Regions from separate parts of the Homo sapiens genome. Here regions 1, 2 and 3 are each linked to region 4. The links are contacts of gene promoters, found by promoter capture Hi-C in human tissues and cell types (Jung and others, 2019). All regions are on one chromosome and are shown on one strand. The core of a region is centred on a gene start or on the middle of the fragment in contact, and the rest is flanking DNA. Distances in the headings are between cores, read along the strand shown. Region 1 has its middle 14 kb from the start of WNT5B. Region 2 has its middle 32 kb from the start of FBXL14. Region 3 overlaps ADIPOR2 (adiponectin receptor 2). Region 4 holds the start of WNK1 (WNK lysine deficient protein kinase 1).

What was found. Contacts are between HindIII fragments. The study calls those that stand out against the background at their distance.
Region 1: a contact is called between a fragment that was not itself captured here and the fragment with the promoter of WNK1 in region 4, in 1 of the 25 tissues and cell types used here (dorsolateral prefrontal cortex).
Region 2: a contact is called between a fragment that was not itself captured here and the fragment with the promoter of WNK1 in region 4, in 1 of the 25 tissues and cell types used here (dorsolateral prefrontal cortex).
Region 3: a fragment that was not itself captured here is called in contact with the fragment with the promoter of WNK1 in region 4 in 1 of the 25 tissues and cell types used here (dorsolateral prefrontal cortex).

Annotation. Positions count from the first base shown.
Region 1 is chr12:1,613,645-1,616,344 of GRCh38, reverse strand. No RefSeq gene overlaps it. Among named protein-coding and RNA genes, the nearest start is that of WNT5B, 14 kb to the left of the region's middle. The HindIII fragment of the contact is 5,498 bases long and covers 1-2,700 here.
Region 2 is chr12:1,561,205-1,563,904 of GRCh38, reverse strand. No RefSeq gene overlaps it. Among named protein-coding and RNA genes, the nearest start is that of FBXL14, 32 kb to the left of the region's middle. The HindIII fragment of the contact is 3,948 bases long and covers 1-2,700 here.
Region 3 is chr12:1,698,138-1,700,837 of GRCh38, reverse strand. The region is part of intron 1 of ADIPOR2 (adiponectin receptor 2); the gene reads right to left. Among named protein-coding and RNA genes, the nearest start is that of ADIPOR2, 8.4 kb to the right of the region's middle. The HindIII fragment of the contact is 6,685 bases long and covers 1-2,700 here.
Region 4 is chr12:751,176-753,875 of GRCh38, reverse strand. WNK1 (WNK lysine deficient protein kinase 1) reads right to left here and starts at 1,297. Exons shown (of 28, transcript NM_018979.4): 1 at 1-1,297. The coding sequence starts at 310. RefSeq lists enhancers at 1-565, 566-1,284, 2,042-2,091, 2,142-2,241 and silencers at 402-781, 792-1,171, 1,252-1,401. The HindIII fragment of the contact is 16,449 bases long and covers 1-2,700 here.

The sequences.
Region 1 (2,700 bases), core at 44-2,543, 860 kb before region 4:
AGTTTCTTTTATGGCTCTGCCAGGCTTCTTTTCACGGAACTCCTGACCCTCTTGCTAAATTGCTCCCTCGACTGCCTGTTTTCTTGGTGAAGGCTGCAATGATGGGGGTCAAGCTTGCTGTCTATGCTGCCCCAGCACGGGGCTCTGCAGAAAATGAAGGTAACACAAGGACAGCCTCTGGGAAGCACCTAGCATTCAGCAGGCACTCAATAAATGTTAACTGTTCATCATTTAACACATGCTTACTGTAGGTTTACTCAATACACAGTACTGTATAGGATATTCCAATCAATTAATACAATGCTACTCTCCTAGGAACTCAATATCACTGCCCAAGATGGTAGCCACTGACCACATGTGGCTATTTAAATTAAAAATGAATTTAAATTAAATGTTCAGTTCCTCCATTGCAGAAGCCACGTTTCAAGGGCTCAGTAGCTACAAGTGGCTAGTGGCTATTGTTTTGGACAGCACGGATTATAGAACGTTTCCATGATCACAGAGAGCTTATGGACTGTCTCATAGTGCTGGTCTAGAGTGGAAGCCAGGCAAGAACACAAATCATCACTTGTACAAAACCGAAAGTTCCATTTGAAATCCATTGTTTAAACGTGGTGCAGTAGGAGCTTTAACAGAGTTACTTGCAAAGTACCATGGCACTCAAGGTAAGGGTAGCAAACTCTAACCTACCGCCCAGGAGCAAGACCCCACCTACCAGCCATGGAGACAACCATTTTCTATTCCAATGACAACCTATACTTCCATCATTGCAGGTAATCTTTAGGAAAAGCAGCCATTCTGCAATGACCTTGAGAGCAATTTCCCATGATCAGAACCAAATTGTTTGCTATTTTAAATTTGCTACTCAGAGTAAACGAAAAAGTTCAGACCCAGTGAAAATGCCAAAAAGTAATCGAAATGGAATTCTTTCTGTGACTCTTAATTCAAGTCAACTAATATTATTGAGCATCTATTAGGTCTTACTCAAAGTTGAGTAACAGGAACTCTTGGTTGAATAACAGGAATCTCGTAGAGGTGAGGCAAACATATGTGATTATAACATTTAGCAGGGCAATACGTTATAATGGAGGTATCAATTACTATCCAAACAGCTGAGAAAGACTATGTCGTTCCAACGGTGGGGATGCTTTCTGGGGGTGATGGTATTTGAACCTGTCCCTAAGAGGACACACAGGATTCTCACAGCTGGAGATAGGAGAATGAGACCCGCCCAAGGAGCAAAGGCACAGAGGCCTGAAAAACACATGACACGTAGTTTCAAGTCCAAAATTCAACTTCAGAAAACAGAAGAGGGAAGGGGGAGAGAAAGAGAGACAGAGAGAGAGAGAGAGAGAACCAAAGCCAAAATCTAAAGACAAACAAAAGTCATTAATTCTTCGTGAAGCAGAACCTTCCTATTGGGGCCCCCTTATAAGGAGTTTGGGCGTCTCTTGTCATCTGCAGGAGACATCCGAGGCATCTGAACAGGGGAGAGGCACCATCAGATGTGGATTTAGAAAAGCTCTGGTAATCGTTTGCTCCAATAATGATGGATGGAGTGTGGAGGGTAAGCATCTGGAAGGTGGGAGCCCAGCTGGGAGGTCTGATTCAGTAGAAACACTACAAGGGGCAGAAGGAGAGCACTGTCAGCCTGAGTGGAAAGGAGACGAGGAGGTGTGGTCTGTGCCTTATGCAGCCAAGGGATGACAAATGTCCGCAGCTGGAACAAACCACCAGCACAGGCCTCGGGCCGCTGGCCTCTGGTCACTGCTGAATGGAGATGAAGAGTCCTGACTATAGTCTATCCGCATGTGGCTTTGGGGAGGGCCCACTGTTTCTGTGGTCACCTCCCAAGCTGCATGAGACAGCTGGAGCAGGTGTGATCTCCATGGGATCCGGCTATCTTGTAAGCACAGGCCATGGATCAGAAAGAGTCACCACTCCTGAAAATACAAACAAATTGAGATACATATCCCACCTTATTTTCAGGAATTTAGGAATTCCTAAATATTAGGATAAATTTAGGAATTCCTAAGATTCCTGAAGATTATCTGTAATATGTAAGAGATATATAACCCTCTTATTAAAATTAAGACAAAATCACGGTTAATAGTAGAAATAATTATTAATTATTTCCACCCTCCTAGGCATGTGTGTATTTGTCCAATAAGTTACTTCACTCTCATATGACGTCCTCCTCCTTTGGGCCCTCAAAGCCCATTGTAGCAGAGATCACTTGATGGTCACTAAAATTGCACACCGCTGGACTACATTACCCAGCATCCACTGCACAAAGAGGTGGTCATATGACTGGGTGCTATCTAAAGGTATACTAGAAGAAGTGATGTCTGCAGCTCCCAGGCCTGGCCTCTAAAAATCTCCAACCAGGAGACCTCCAAGCTCGCTTTTCTTCTTTCAGCTTGATGCAGACAAGCATGGTGGCCTTCAAAACCAGGCCAAAGGTAGAGTGATAAATCAGAAGAAGCCCAAGCCCCAAAATTACCAGAGGGAGACCTGCCTGATAATAATGAACATCTATTTTGGCTTTTACATGGGCTAGAAATAAATTTCTATGATTCTAGAGCCAATTTACATTTGGGAGATTTGTTTGTTACAGGAACCTCAAGACCTTAACTAATACAACCTCTTACAACACTTATTCTGTTTTGTATTAGACTTACCTATATACGTTTATCCCCC
Region 2 (2,700 bases), core at 46-2,545, 810 kb before region 4:
CCAACACTGATATCCCAGCATCCCAAGGAGTTCATCCCTATATCTCATTTAGTTATCTTCCAAGTAATCTGCTGTGATATGCAGTTTGCTACCCTGGCACAGACAGGAGGAAAAGAACCATCAGCCGCCCTAAGCCTGCAGTTCTGAGGCTCCCCCAAGGCTTCGATGGGCCTTTCTAGGAGGTGGCTCTGTGATTCCAGCCTCAACACCAAGGAATCTTGGGTTATTTATGAGATCAGAGCCCTTATTAATGTAATTCTGTTCAAGGCAATTTAAACGAATGAAATAGGCATGATGGTGCACGCCTGTGGTCCCAGCTACTTGTGATGCTGAGGAGGGGGATCACTTGAGCCCCAGAGTTTAAGGCTGCAGTGAGCCACGATGGTCCCACTGCACTCCAGCCTGGCAACACAGCAAGACCCTGCCTCTGAAACATTTTTTTTTAATTTAAAAAAAGAAGGGAAGATAAGTGAGAATTTGAAAGCAATGACAGACATATTTGAAAGCTGCAGGGGCAGGTGGAGGCAGCCACGGAGGACACGGTGGGGCGTCAGCTTGTGGGGCCGGAAGTTCCGTGCGAGCACCTAGAGCGAGGTCTCTCATACTCGTTCCCACACCACTGAGATTGGCGTTTCACTAAGGACCGATTGAGGAAGCAACAGCAATGAAAAGGAGGCCACGAGGAATGAGGAAACTGTCTACATGGAGTATAAACTCAAGGCCAGCATCCAAGGAAAACATCAAATTGGAAAGAAAAAAACAGAAACATTTCAGATGGCGGAGCTGAAACTCAGTCTCTGGGATGTGGCGACTTCGGTCTCCCTCTCATGCCTGACAGTGGAGTCAGAACCCTGTCATTTTTAGAGGCTGGGTCCCTGGCACGCGATTCCTCTGGTACAAAAGAACCCACTCACTGCGCAAGTGGTCTGGGCAGGGGACTAGGTGTGTGGGGCCAACTCACATCCCTGACTCCTGTTTCTCAGCCATTAGCTCATATCTGAAACCTGGTATTAGAATAGTTCATGCCGGGACACTCTTTGAACTCTGTTTGCCCTAGTCCTGGCACTGCTGCCCTACAAAGGGAGGAGAATTTTAATAGCATTAAACACACACACACACACACACACACACACACACACACACACACACACACACACAAGGGAAAGAGGATGAAATACTTGTAAAGCTTTTGATAGTATCGAGTCATACACATATAAGCATGCAAGTGGTAGGAGTACTGAATGTTCTAGAACATACACAATACAAGTTGCAGTAGAACTACCTTTTACATTACCTCATGGAGCAGCAAGGCTATGTTAGAGCTGAGAACAAAACTGAGGCTTCTAAACATTTGGGGCTTTTGAATACCTCTCCCCATATATTGTTTTGGAATGACCCCCAGCTTTCTGAAGAGCACGGAGGGTGGAGCATGGCCATCCTGCAGCACTGTAGAAAGAGCAATGGGCTTTAGAGCTCAGTTATGCTGATTGTTTCCTGCGTGACATAGAGCAGACGACCTAGCCTCTGGTCCTGTTTCCTCATCTTTATTTATTTATTTATTTATTTATTTATTTATATTTTTTTGAGACAGAGTCTCACTCTGTCGCCTAGGCTGGAGTGCAGTGGCGTAATCTCGGCTCACTGCAACCTGCACCTACCAGGTTCAAGCAATTCTCCTGCCTCAGCCTCCTGAGTAGCTGGAATTACAGGTGCATGCTACCGCGCCTGGCTAATTTTTCTATTTTTAGGAGAGATGGGGTTTCACCACGTTGGCCAGGCTGGTCTCGAACTCCTGACCTCAGGTGATCCACCCACCTTGGCCTGCCAAAGTGCTGGGATTACAGGTGTGACCGTGCCCGGCCCTGTTTCTTCGTCTTTAAAATGAGAATATGAAAGCCTTCTTCACAGGGTTGTAGTTGGAATACACGAAATGAGATGATGTATGTAAAGCTTCTACTATAGTGCCTGGCGTATAGCAGATGCTTTGTTCATTTGATCAATATTAATTAAGCACCTTACTACATGTCAGGCACTGTGTGAGGTGCTGGAAATAAACGTTAGTAGGAACAGACCTGGCATCTGTCTCCTTGGAGCGTGCAGTGTAGCCACCTATTGTGTCACTAATAGTGGCACTTACTGTGAATGGCCTGTCTTGACTGAGGTGCACAGGTGGTACTTACACAGGTCACAAAGATGAGCAAAGTACAGGCACTGCTTCTGAACTGCTTAAATCTGATTAAAAAGCTAGGACAACCATAACCACATAATTGGATGCCTCTGCCACTAATTAAGTGATCTTGGGGAAATAATTTAACAATTTTGGACCTCAGTTTCCCCATAAATAAAATGAGGAGGTTGGACTGGATTAATGGTTCCCAAACGTGGCTGAGTATCACAATTGCCTGGGGAAGCTTTTAGAAGTACATATTCCAGGGACCCACCCCAGACTTGCTCATCGGAATCTTAAGTGTGGGGTTCAGGGATCTGTAGTAATTTTAAAAATGTCCCCAAGTGATCCAACACAGATATTTTGGTCTTAGTCCATATGTCAGATCCCTTTTAACGAAAGAGTTCTGGGATAAATTACTATAATCCAAAGCCGAAGCAAAGAGTGCCACAGAAAAGGCACCAATACAATATTGTGAGAGTTAGGAAAAGGCAAACATCTCAGGGGAGGCAGCAGCACTGAAGCGGAACTTG
Region 3 (2,700 bases), core at 119-2,618, 950 kb before region 4:
TGAAATCTTAATGCTTAGCCCTCACCTTTTTTTTTTTTTTAAATCTAGGGCCACTAACAACAACAAAACAGCTTTTATATAATGTCCAGTTTAAATAGTTTCTTAGAAATCTGTGAAGAGAGGATTTCACCCCTGAAAAATTGGTCTTGTTCCTCCTTTTAGTTTAGTGCTATGTATTTTACCATACTTCCATTTTTACCCTCGCTGCCAAGCAAACTCAAACCCAATTTTTATTCTTAGTCATTGAATTATGCTGTCACTTGGGAAAAGAATATATGCTTTGTCCTTTCCCTGATTTCTTCTTTTTACACATATTTTATTACACTTCCAGATCTTTTATTTTAAGTTACCAGATATCCTTTCTGGAAGAAATAGGATAAAATAAATTTCAAGAAAATAAAGTCAATCTTCTGTGCCATTCTGCTGAAGTTTTCATAATGTAACCCCTACCACAAAGACATCCTCCTTAACCAAAGGAATGGATACATGGATACAACTAGGCATACATGTTCACTAAACTTAATTTCAAAACATACAAGATTAAAGTGAATATGCTGTCAATGAAAAATAATCAGCTGATATACTAACAACAAACATACAAAAGAAAGGCCTAAATGGCCAAAGTGTAATAAGCTAACTAATTTTGCCCCTTTTAAGACCATATGCTTTGTGTTTTGTTCTCTAGTACACAGACATTGTGGAAATAAGAATATTCTTATATTCAATAAATCCAGTAAGAATGTGTAATATGATCAGTTATAAAGAAAATATCATTTTGTTGTAGTCTTCCATTAAAAAACTTAAGTGTCCTTTTCCAGTTATTTTTCCCATGCCTGAAGATAATCTGGCAATTCTCAGAATTTAGCTTCCCTTTTCCTTCTGTCTGGACACTTGTCTAATTAAGCCAATCTATAATATCATTGGCCAACATATATCCCCTTCTAACACATGGTATACTCCAATCCAGAAAACTCAAAACCATAAGTAATGTTAAACAAATCCCCTTTTTAATAAATTCCTCAACTTCCAATTTCTAAATACCAAATGTACTTATAAAATAGGCTAATTATTTCCTAACAGGTCCTAAGATATCAGTTCGTCCTATTTAACTTATCTTAGAGTTGAAAGATGAGAGACAACATATGCCAAAGTGACAATTTTATAATGAAGTTTTTCTTTTCTTTTTAAGACGGAGTTTCGCTCTTGTTGCCCAGGCTGGAGTGCAATGGTGCTATCTCGGCTCACCGCAACCTCTGCCTCCCGGGTTCAAGTGATTATCCTGCCTCGGTCTCCCAAGTAGCAGGGATTACAGGCAGTGGCCATGATGCCTGGCTAATTTTTGTTTTTGGTTTTTTTTGTTTTGTTTTGTTTTAGTATTTTCAGTAGAGACGGGGGTTTCGCCATGTTGGCCAGGCTGGTCTCAAACTCCCAACCTCAGGTGATCCGCCCACCTTGGCGTCCCAAAGTGCTGGGATTACAGGCCTGAGCGACCGCACCCAGCATGCACTGCAGTTTTTCAAGTTTGTATTTCACAATTTGAAAATATTATTTTTAACAAAATTAAAGCACTTCACTCAGCAGTAACCCCAACAGTTACTGGTTCATGAACCAATTTAGATTTTTAAAAGACCATTTACTTACCACCTGCTATATACCGGAACTGCCAGTAGATTATCAAGAAAGTTACACGTTCCTTACCCTCAAGAAATATATAGTCTATTAGGCAGGCACCCAGATTCTTTTTGATCAGTGATAACAAAACCATATGCTTTCAAGAGCCAAGCAGAGAATGTAAATAGGTGAAGCAGCTCCACCTAAGGGAGGCCCGGGAACAGAATGCATGCTCCACCTGAAGTAATCGTAAATCAACTTTAAAAGAATGCTATTGAAACAAAGCATATCTCCCAGTTAGATAGAATATACTGCAAATGCTTAACCTCCTATCAGATAAACAAAGATTTTTTTTTTTAATTTGTAATGACACAGAGAAGCTAGACTCCACCCACATTTCTGGTGAGAGTTTACATTGCTGTGACCTTTCTGGGTGGCAATGTGATAACACACATCAAAATGAAAAATGTGTTTTCTTCAACTATTACAAAATTACTAAAGGGGAATTAGCTTGCAATAAATATACATAAAATGTATGGGCAATTTACAATCCATTTATATAATCTAAATATCCATCAGTAAGAGCAGTATTAAGTTATAGCATATCCATTTAATAATACTACACTAGAGAACTACTAAAAAGAAGAGAGTAGATGCAGATGTAAAGTAAGCCACAAATATTAATTTTAAAAACACACACACAGGGCCTGTCATGGTGGCTCAAGCCTATAATCCCAGCACTTTGAGAAGCTAAGGCAAAGAGGATCACTTGAGTCCAGGAGTTCAAGGCCGGCCTGGGCAACATGGCAAAACCTCGTCTCCATTAAAAATGCAAAAATTAGCCTGGCGTGCATCTATAGTCCCAGCTACGTGGGAGTCTCAGTTGGGAGGACTGTTTGAGTTCGAGAGGGCAGTGAGCCGTGATTGTGCCATGGCACTCCAGCCTGGGTGACAGAGCAAGACCCTGTCTCAGAAATTAAATAAAATACACACACACACACACACACACACACACACACAATCAGCCAAGACAGCACCACCTGCTGAGCTCCCAAACACTGTTTCTGGTCACATCCAGAAGTACAACGC
Region 4 (2,700 bases), core at 48-2,547:
GGGGCAGGGAAAGAGGAAGGCCGGGAAGCTCCAGTGCAGTGGCATTGGAGTCACAGATGACGCTCCGGCGGAAGAAGCGGTGCTCAGTGGTGGTAGTGGTCGCGGCCGCCCCACGGCTGTCCTTGTCCATAGTGTGGCGGCGGCGCCTGTACTCCTCGGTCCTGCCGGTCACAGCGTCGGCGGCCGCGGCTCCCAGTTTCTCCCCCACGGAGGAATCGGAGCTGGAGCCATTCTTGGGGGCAGGAGCCGGCGGCGAGAGGAACAGGGAACCGGGAGTGCTGCTCTGCTTCTCTGCGGCGCCGCCAGACATGGTCGGTTCGCTGGAGAGAGGCGAGCGGGCTCGGATTCGTGAACGAAAAGGGCGTGAAGGGCCGAGCCGCCCGCGCAGAGGTCTGCAGGGAACCGCGGCCGGGCGGGTTCGCGCCGACCCGGACGACGCCTCACTCAGCACCGACAAGCCGCAACGAGGGACAGGCGGACCGCTGGGCCCAGCTGCGGCGGGGGCTGGCACCGAGGCTGCTGCGGCTCACGAGGAGGGCTCGAAGGCGGGCGATTCGGGAGCTGAGCCACGGGGGTTAGCGCCGCACGGTCCGCATCCATCCTGCGGCGAGCGGCGGCCGGGCGGGCGGTGGCAGCAGAGGCGCCGCAGTCATGAGGGGAGGGCCAGGGGCCGGCACCGAGTCGAGGCGGATGCGGCGGACGCGGCTCCCACTGCCGCCGCTCGCCGAGCTGGGCGGGCTAGGCCCAGAGGGCGGCGGCACCGCGAGCACGGGACCAGGTCCGACGCCCGGGCGGTGGCGGCCCCGGGGCAGAGGAGTGGGAGGGGCCGAGGCGGGCGAGGGAAGGCCGCGGCCCGGCTCCCGGTCACTCGGGCGGCCGCCTCCTCCCACACGCGCCCCCAGCGATGGGGACCGGCCTCACAGGTCGCCCATCGCCCAGAGGCGAAGGGCCGGAGCCTCGGAGCCTCGGCGCCTGAGGAGCGGGCCCCCCCTTCCCCGAGGCCTCCCCGCCCGCCCCAGGCCTGGCAAACCCGTCTCCTCCCGGGCCGGTGCCGGGGGCTGACGGAGGAGGGAACGGCGGGGAGGGGAGGGCCGCTCACCGCGGGGCCCGAGCTCCGCTGCTTCTCTGAGGCAAGAGGAGAGGAGACCTAGAGGACTGGGTGAGGGGGAACAGGGAGAGAAAAGAGCAGCCACCCCCACCAGGCGCCTTCTGTCACCGAAGATGGGGGTGCGGAGTGGCCGAGAGAGGAGCCGCGTCCACCCGGGAAACTCTCCGCGCTAAATGGCGCCGGGAGTCTGAAGCCTCCACACAGCCCGCTCGGATCCCGCCCCCCGCCGCCCGGAGCAGCCCCACCCCCCAACTCGCTCCGGGGCTTTTGCGCAGGCGTGCTAGCCCCGAGGCACCCTGGGACTTATAGTTTACGGGTTGGCGGGGATGAACGGGACCTAGAAGAAAAGTGCCTACGACTTCCGTGATGCCTTGCGGTTGCTGTAGCCTAATGCCTCGTGGGAGTTGTAGTTTTCTTTGGAAACCGTCCCTTCTGAAAGGCTGATGGGAGCGTCATCACGGGTCGCTCAACCCCATCCCGAAGTCCGCGCGAGCTTAGGAAAATCATTATTTAGGGATTAATTGTGGAAGAAGGAAAGGAAGGAAAAAAAAAAAAAAAAGAAGAGGAACGAGCGGGCGGGGGGTGGGGGGGGGGATGGAAAGACTCCCATCATGCTCTGCTAAGCTAGAGAGCTCTTAGGGTTGCCATGCAATGAAAAATGATCTGTTGTTCATCTTTAATGGAGAGAGCCTCAGTAGTGTTGAGTGACTGCAGGGCTGTGAGGGTGGAAGGGAAGGGCAAAGCAGGATAACCGGAGCCTGAGCTCTGAGTCGGAGGAGGGGAAAAGAAACTTTGTGAAGATTGTGCATGAAATTAATATTGATTAAACGGATTGGAGGAGGAGACACGGAGGATTACCTTCCATCCTCCTCCCCTCATCAATTAAGGCCACATTCTCAGCTCCCGGCCGAGACGGATATTCTGGCTCTCAAAAAAGGGCTGCCTTACTGAAATCGGGGATCCTAGTGAACTCTATCTTTGCTTTGTCTGAAAAATAATAAAAGGGGGGTTGGGGGAGCGGTGGATTCAAGAAAAGATAAGGTCTACGGATCTATGGGTCTTTGACCACACTTGGGGGGCTGGGCTGACTTCTGCCTTTGTAGTTGGTTGAAACTTATTTTCCACCTTTCTTCTGCTGGTGGCTTCGTGAAACAACACCCCCTCTTTCTCTAGAGCTCCTGAATGTCCACATGCAATGTCTACAAAGGCTCTGGGCCCGGGAAATGTGGATCCATGCGGCTTGCCGCCATGGAATGTTTTTCTTGAAAGCATCCTTGTCTGCCTGGACCCCTGTGCTCTTCGCAACTACTCAAGATGTGGAGGGGACGAGCACCAGGGGGCACCAGACCGAGTAGGAAGCCGGACTCGGGAGCAGACTGCAGTTTAAAAGCCTCAGTCCAACCGGTGGAGAGCGGGAAGCGCTGAAAACGTACGCAACCGCATCAGAGCGTCCGGACGCGGCCGCCTCTCTTCAGCGCCCGCTGCGGAACAAGCTCGAAAGCGCGCGTCGGGGCCGAGGACCACGCTGCGAGCGAGCAGCTAGCAAGGAACTCGGCAGGAGGTTCCTTAGCACAGTTATCGGATGAGCTCCA